Linked DNA regions of Homo sapiens: region 1 is linked to region 2. The links are contacts of gene promoters, found by promoter capture Hi-C in human tissues and cell types (Jung and others, 2019). All regions are on one chromosome and are shown on one strand. Each heading gives the region's core, a stretch centred on a gene start or on the middle of the fragment in contact. The rest is flanking DNA. Distances are from core to core; before and after follow the strand shown.

Region 1 (3,794 bases), core at 513-3,012, 1.7 Mb before region 2:
ATCCCTTGAGCCCTGGAGTTGAAGGCTATAGTGAGCTATGATCACACCACTGCACTCTAGCCTGAGCGACAGAACAAGATCCCATCTCTGAAAAAATGGATGAGTGAATTAAATTTCAAAATAGAGATTTAATGGAAAAATGAGAATTGTTGTGTACATGATTTATGAAGTGGCTTACATAATATAATTTTGGACATGAAAGCCCTGAAAAATAGCTTCTTATTTTAAGGATGAACAGACTGGGATTTATTTCTGAAATTCTATAATTCTCAGTCAGTTGTAAGGCTTTCATTATATAATAGACTTTTTTTTTTAACCAACGGAAGTTGGACCTCTTCAAAATGTGAGATCCAAAAAGGTTTTGGATATTGTTTGAATAACTCTCTTCTCCAAAGGAGACTGTTTTTGAAAAATGATTCTTTCTGACATGTTAAAATTGAATATTTTTGACACGCCAAATGCACCAAAGTATTATATGTCATGTTTATTGCCGAGAGTAGCTATATAGCTTGTGGGAGACAGTTAACGTGAAGCTTTCTTGCATCTGGAAGTATGGGGAGAGAGAAGGCTTCTTCACACCCCCTTTCATGTTATATTCTACAGGGAAAGAATTTCTATCATGTAGACACTAGGTGACTCCCTTGTGGATAATTTCATTTAACAATGATTTCTGGGTGTTGCTCTATGCCAGGCACTGTTCTAGGAGCTGATGCGAAGGCTCAGCTGATGGGCTACAGACCTGAAGGCCTGTGCTCCTCAGTGGCACTCTGTAGGTAGATACAGAGCCACCATCTACTGGGTGCTTCTCCTGAGTGTGACAGTGTAGGCTGGGACACGATGCTACCCTTCAAGGAGCTTGAAGCTAAGGTTCTGTGCACAGATAAAATTAGAATAAATGCAGAGATGCTATAACAAGATGTCTTAGAAAAAAGAAAAACAAAGAATAAATGCAGAGAGAAAGAGAAATGTATAAAAGGTAGAGAGATAAACATACCACAAGTTCATAGAAAAGAAAGGTTGTGTGTTTATCTGTGGCTGGGATGATCAAGAAATGCTTCATGGATAAAGAGCCTTTGAGCCAGACATTGAAAGAAAGGTAATGTTGGACTTGAGGTCTTGGAGTATCCTCGTTGAAGGAAACATGAGCAAAGGCATAGGTAGGGATGGGAAATGCCGGGGTGCAGAGTGGGCAGGAATCGATTTGTAGTTGCTGGGCAATGATGTGTGTAAACCACTAAGGAGAAGATCAGGTAGCAAAGGTCCTTGGAGGCCAGAACCCAGAGGGCCTTGAATGGCACGTGACTAAATGATTTAAACTTAAGTTACTGGGGAGCAATGGAAGAATTTGAGTGGCTAGAGTCCCCATCCTGAAGAGGCCTTGCGGGGATCAGCATGTGGGTGCCTCTGGACTGTGAAATAGCCAGAGCTGGGAAGCCTTTTAGAGCTGCTGTTGTGGTCCAGGAGGGAGGTGGGGAGGGCCTGGGTGAGGGGAAGGCCACTAGATGGAGAAATTGAATTTATGAGATGGGATTTAGGAACTGCCTAGATAATAGGGGTTGGCCGATGGGAAGCAAAAATGCCCCCAGAGCTTTGAACCCAGGTGCCATTCATTATTTCTATGCCATCTGCCAGGCATTGCATAGCTATTATCTCATTTAATCTCCTCCTAATCTTGTGGGTTGGTATTTTCATCCTTATATCAGAGACGAGAAAACTAAGGGTCAGAGAAAATTAGCAATTGGTCTAAAATTGTACAGTTGTAACAGGATCTAGAACAGGGACTTCAGTACAGGCCTCCCTGACCCCCAAGCCTGTGTTCTTTCTACTGTACTAGGCTTGGAAGACAGCGTACGTGAGAGCAAAGACAAGCTCTGTCCACTCTGTGCATATTCAGTGTAGGTGCTGGTGAGATTCCCGCCTTCAGGTGTCCAGCAAGTGGTTGGAGACATGGAGCCGAATCTCAAGGACATTGGGAGGATTGAAGGTCAAGGCTTAAGAACCATCTGCATCCTCATTTATTTATTCAGCAGCTATTTGTTGTGTCTTCGTGGACCAGCTTGGCAGCATGAATGCTGTGACCAACAAGAGAGGTGTGTCCTTCACGGAGCTGCCAGGCTGGGAGGGAGCCCTGATGGCGTGGCTTGAGTGTAAGGCAGGAGGTGTGCAGATTGGCTGTGGGAACTTACTGGCCTAACCTTGTCAGGTCAGGGAAGCTCTCTAGAGGCAGTTGTGGTTCTCAACATGAGACTCAAATGATGAGGACCCAGTTAAAAAGTGGGAAAACAGCATACCCCAGGCCGTGGAAGTAGCGCGTACTCAGGCAGAGCAAGATAAGAACACAGTGTCTTTAAACCAAAAACCACGTGTGGCTGGAATGGAGGGAAGAGCAAGGAGATAAGACAGGTGAGCAGGAACCAGAACAAGAAATGCCCTGGAAGCTGTGAGACGCTTGGAATTCACCTGTGAAGAAAAGAGTAGCCTCATCTGAATTCCTTGCCTCGATTATGGTCTCCAATAGAAGATTAAATGGCTGTGGAGTCTAGAGGTTTTTTCCTTCGGTGTGGGCATCACCCCTTCTGAAAGGATGGTGTAATGGCTAATTGTATGTATCAGCTTGGCGAGGCCACAGTACCCAGATACTTGGTCAAGCACCAGTCTAGATGTCGCTGTGCAGGTAGTTTTTTAGATGAGGTTTAACATTTATATCAGTAGAAGGAGTGAAGCAGATTATCCTTTGTAATGTATGTAGGCCTCATATATCATCAGTTGAAGGCCTTAAGAGAAAAAGATTGAAGTCCCTAAAGAAGAAGGAACTCTGTCTCCAGTCTCCCTTCAGACTCAAGACTGCAACATCGGCCTGGCACGGTGGCTCACGCCTGTAATCCCAGCACTTTGGGAGGCTGAGATGGGTGGATCGCTTGAGATCAGGAGTTCAAGACCAGCCTGGCCAACATGGCAAAAACCTGTCTCTATTTAAAAACACAAAAATTAGTTGGGCATGGTGGCAGGCGCCTGTAGTCCCAGCTACTTGGGAGGCTGCGGCATGAGAATCACTTGAACCCAGGAGGCAGAGGTTGCAGTGAGCTGAGATCATGTAACTGCACTCTAGCCTGGGCGACAGAGTGAGACTCTGTCTCAAAAAAAAAAAAAAAAAGACTGCAACATCAACTCTTCCCTTGGTCACCAGCATGCCCTGAAGATTGTGGATTTGTCAGTCCCTGTAATTGCATGAGCCAGTTCCTTAAGGTAAATATCAGTATCTACCCCCACCCCCACCACTCTCTCTCTCAATCTCAATCTCAGTCTCTCTCTCTCTCAATCTCAATCTCCCTCTCAATCGCCCTCTCCCTCTTCCTCTTCCTCTCCCTCTCTCCCTCTTGGTTCTGTTTCTCTGGAGAACCCTGACTAATGCAGATAGGAAGATAAATAAATTTAAGTTGTTTGGCTCCAGTTGGTATTAGCAGAAAGCTGCATCAGGCTTCTCTAGGTGTTCTTGGTGTGTGCGTATATTGCTTTTTGTATAGATGAGAATAGTGAAATATAGAAGGGAAGTGATGTACCCACAGTCATGCAGACAGTTGATGGGAGAGCCAAGGAGAAAACTCAAGTTTCAAACCTCTGGTGTAGTTCAGTCGCTTTCTTGCTATTTGGCCCTCATGTTTTTATTAGCAAGGTAATAAAGTTATTGAGTTTGCCATGCGTAATTATTGGTAATGTTTATGGAATGTTCTCTGTATGTCAGGTGCTGTTTTAGTTGCCCTACAGGTGTTAGTGATTTTAATCCTTACAACTAC
Region 2 (3,465 bases), core at 739-3,238:
AAGCAATTTGTTAAACACTTTTAGCCTAAAGAAATCTAACCAAATTACAAAGTTTAGACAAAAACAGTCTTTATCACAAGAAAATGACTTAACGATACAAAGTATCTCAACAAGTCAGAAGTATGCTTTGGATTTCCAGACTCAGATCTAGGTACTCCCAGCACTGGTGCTGCTGCTGCCTCTCTTTTTTACTTTACTTTTTTTCTTTAAACCCATTTCTGCAGGATGCTGCCTCTTTCTACTCTAATTCTTCCCAGAGGAGTTTCATACTACAAACGACAAAGACATTGTCTAAAGCATTACAGAAATTCCTTCAGTCTTGCCTCTGACTTATCACCTAAATTTGTATCGTTAGGATGAAAGGATTATCCGCTATACCTTAATCATGACGCTATGACAACAAAAAGTTATGGTGGATCCAAGGTTCCAATTCAGCTGGTCCCACACAGTAAAACCAATGCACACTTCCCGTCTCTTTGTTGCTGTTCTGATAAAGCAATTAAAAACCATTCACAACAATTTAAAAAAAACATTAATCCCTGTGCCCATACTGTGTCTACGAAATTGAAGCTGTAAGCCCTTTTTATATGATCCACACTTCTGTCTTTTCCAATACTTGCCCTGTTTTTCTGTGCTGATTCAGCTTTAAGAGAGAAAGAAAGACAAGCTTTGAGAGAGACAGACAACTATGGATAGACAATGTACGGGTAATACAGGGCTATCATCCACCTAGGCAGTTACTTCTTGGTATTCTGAGACCTCCTCAAAACTGTCTGAAAGAAGCTGACGCCTAAGACCGAAAACCCCACAAAGATCGTCTTTCCCAAAAGTAGCAGCATTTCTTCCTATCACTTTCAGATTATAATAAAGCAATCAATAAGACATTCATTCTCTTCATACACAGCCTAATAATCCTGGTGACCAACTATACCCAGCAGGGAGGACAAAGCTCTTAACACGAAAGAGTGAGGAGAATCTCTCCATTACCCTTTTACATATTCAGGGAAGAGAGAATATCGCAGTCGCTGGAAATGAAGGGCACAGCATCGTGTTGCTGTATGGCCACGGTTGGCCACAGAAAGGCAGAAAGTCATCAACTGTATGGAAACCAGACAACTCTGACGATTTCTATGCAAGGTGACTACACCTTACTCGTTCTCCAAGTATTAAAGATCTTTTCATCCTTATTGCTGTGTGAACTCCCGTGAGCGGTAAGGTTTTTCTATACTATCGAGGTCTCTTCCCCGATAGGCTGGAAAATCACACCCGGGAGCGTGTTGGGGCCGCGGGACGTACTATTAGGTGTCTCTCCTCCCGCTGCCTATTCCAAGTAGTAGGGGAGAGCGCTACCTCCATGTTATTCAGAGCGAAGTACGGCCGTGCCTCCTGGAGTCTCCGCTCCCAGCACGAGGGGCCGGCTGGGGGGCATCTCTGAGAGAGTGGGTTTAAGGGGACAAGGGGTATCTCCGGTCCTGCGATCAGAAAGGAGGGCGTGGAGGGTGGTGCCGCCGTGCCGAGAGGATCTGCAGTTCCCCTCCCCTCCCTTCCTCTCCTAGAGAGGCAGCCCGGCCCCAGTACCTTCTTGACTGTGCGCGGCGCCTCGGTGACGGTGCCGTCGGGGCTGACCAGGGCCTCGCCGCCGTCGCGGTGCCGCTGGTGCTGGTGATGTGGGTCGCTCCGCTTCATGGCCGACGCCTGAGGCACCTTCCCGGCGGCGGGGCTGAGAGCGGCGGCGGGCCCCGAGCCCGGGCCGGGGACCGGGGGCCGCTCCGCGGCGGGAGCTGGAGCCTCAGGGTCTCCACCGCCCGCCGGGGGGGCCATGGCGCCCACGGCGGCCGTGCTCAGTCCTAGTTGCGACTCCGCCTCGGAGGGGCTCAGGTCCTTCAGCTCCACCTCAGGCACCTTGGCGGCAGCCGCGGCTGACACAACCTGCACCGACATCACCGCCTCCGCTGCAACCACCGGCTCAGACTCCAGCTCCTGCTCTTGGTCGGCCCCGCCTCCCACCTCCCTTCCTCTTCCCTCCCCCATGTCCCCACTCCTCCCCTCCATCGCCTCCTCTCCCACCCCCTTTCTCCGCCCGCCAGTCCCGGCCCCTCCAGCCCCGCCCCGCCCCGTCCCGGTCTGGCCTCGCGCGAGGCGCCACGGAACCTGTAGTGCGTTTGCTCCCGGCCGCACGCGGCGAGAAGACCGTGGGACCTCAGGCCCCGACCTACACTGCGCGCCCCATGGGCGGGGCCCGCAGCGTCCCCTGGGAGTTGTAGTCCTTTCAGCCTTTCCTCCACTAAGTGAGATTCAGCCGAGGAGAGGGAGCGCTAGGGCCGGCAGCTAACAGAAAGGAGTGAGGATAGGTGACTCGACGGAGGGGATGAGGAAGAGAAAGTCTCCAGAGGAGTTGTGACTTCCGGGGAGGGAACGCCAAGAAGCCTTAGGGGAGGGGAAGTGGTAGAGGAATGGCTCGTTGTCCTGACAGCGTGAAGTTCCTCCGCGCGTGCCCGTCTGCGATCACGTGAGCGAGTATTTAAAGGAGAAGCGGCGGCTCCAGGCTGGAAGTGGCTTTATTTTTCTTTGTGATATTGAGAACTCAACACCCTTCCAAACTTCAGTGGCTTTGTTTTTAGAAGGGATAAAGTAGGACCTTGCTTGCTGTGGCGCTTTCTGTCACATTCTGGGTTTGGAAGCTAAGATCATTCCTCAAAGAAGTTAGGTATCACTAGATCAAAATTCAAGGCTGAGGAATTACACGTTGCCTTAAACGAGGCCAAATCTTTTCACCTATAATTCTAATAGGGCAATCATCTGAAATTCAGATACATATATCAGCATAGAGGGATATGAATAGTGAATATGAGTAGTTAATTTCCTAAGTGATGGGATTTAAGGTGATTTTTACTTTGTACTTTTCTGTATTATTTTTAAATTTTACATTTAGAGGATGTAAGCAAAAAGACATGCACCGCAGCGTCCTTTTTAATAACAAAAAACTGTCTAAAACTAATGTCCAACAAATAGAGCAATTGTTACAGCCTTTGAAAATCGTTTGCCAGCTGGGCATAGTGGTTGACGTCTGTAATCCCAGCACTTTGGGAGGCCAAGGCCGGCAGATCACTTGAGATCAGGACTTCAAGACCAGCCTGGCCAACATGGTGAAACCCCATCTCTACTAAAAATACAAAAATTAGCCAGGCGTGGTGGCGGGCACCTGAAATCCCAGCTACTTGGGAGGCTGAGGCAGGAGGATCGCTTGAACCTGGGAGGCAGAGGCTGCAGTGAGCCAAGATCATGCCACGGCACTCCAGCCTGGACAACGGAGTGAGATGCCGTCCCAGAAAAAAAGGAAGAAAGAAAGAAAATTGTTTGCCAATACTTTTTAACAACAAGGTTTTCCCTTTTTCATTCTTTACTCTGAAAGCCAAAATGTGAAGAGGAAGCTAAGAAACTCTTGTGTCTGGTACACTTGTGAGC

Evidence for each region. Contacts are between HindIII fragments. The study calls those that stand out against the background at their distance.
Region 1: a contact is called between a fragment that was not itself captured here and the fragment with the promoter of AHCYL2 in region 2, in 1 of the 25 tissues and cell types used here (hippocampus).

Annotation. Positions count from the first base shown.
Region 1 is chr7:130,934,196-130,937,989 of GRCh38, reverse strand. All of the region lies in intron 6 of LINC-PINT (long intergenic non-protein coding RNA, p53 induced transcript), which reads left to right. Among named protein-coding and RNA genes, the nearest start is that of LINC00513, 23 kb to the right of the region's middle. The HindIII fragment of the contact is 9,181 bases long and covers 1-3,794 here.
Region 2 is chr7:129,223,553-129,227,017 of GRCh38, reverse strand. AHCYL2 (adenosylhomocysteinase like 2) reads right to left here and starts at 1,988. Exons shown (of 17, transcript NM_015328.4): 1 at 1,579-1,988. The coding sequence starts at 1,941. RefSeq lists silencers at 1,655-1,904, 2,025-2,094 and an enhancer at 2,375-2,484. The HindIII fragment of the contact is 19,696 bases long and covers 1-3,465 here.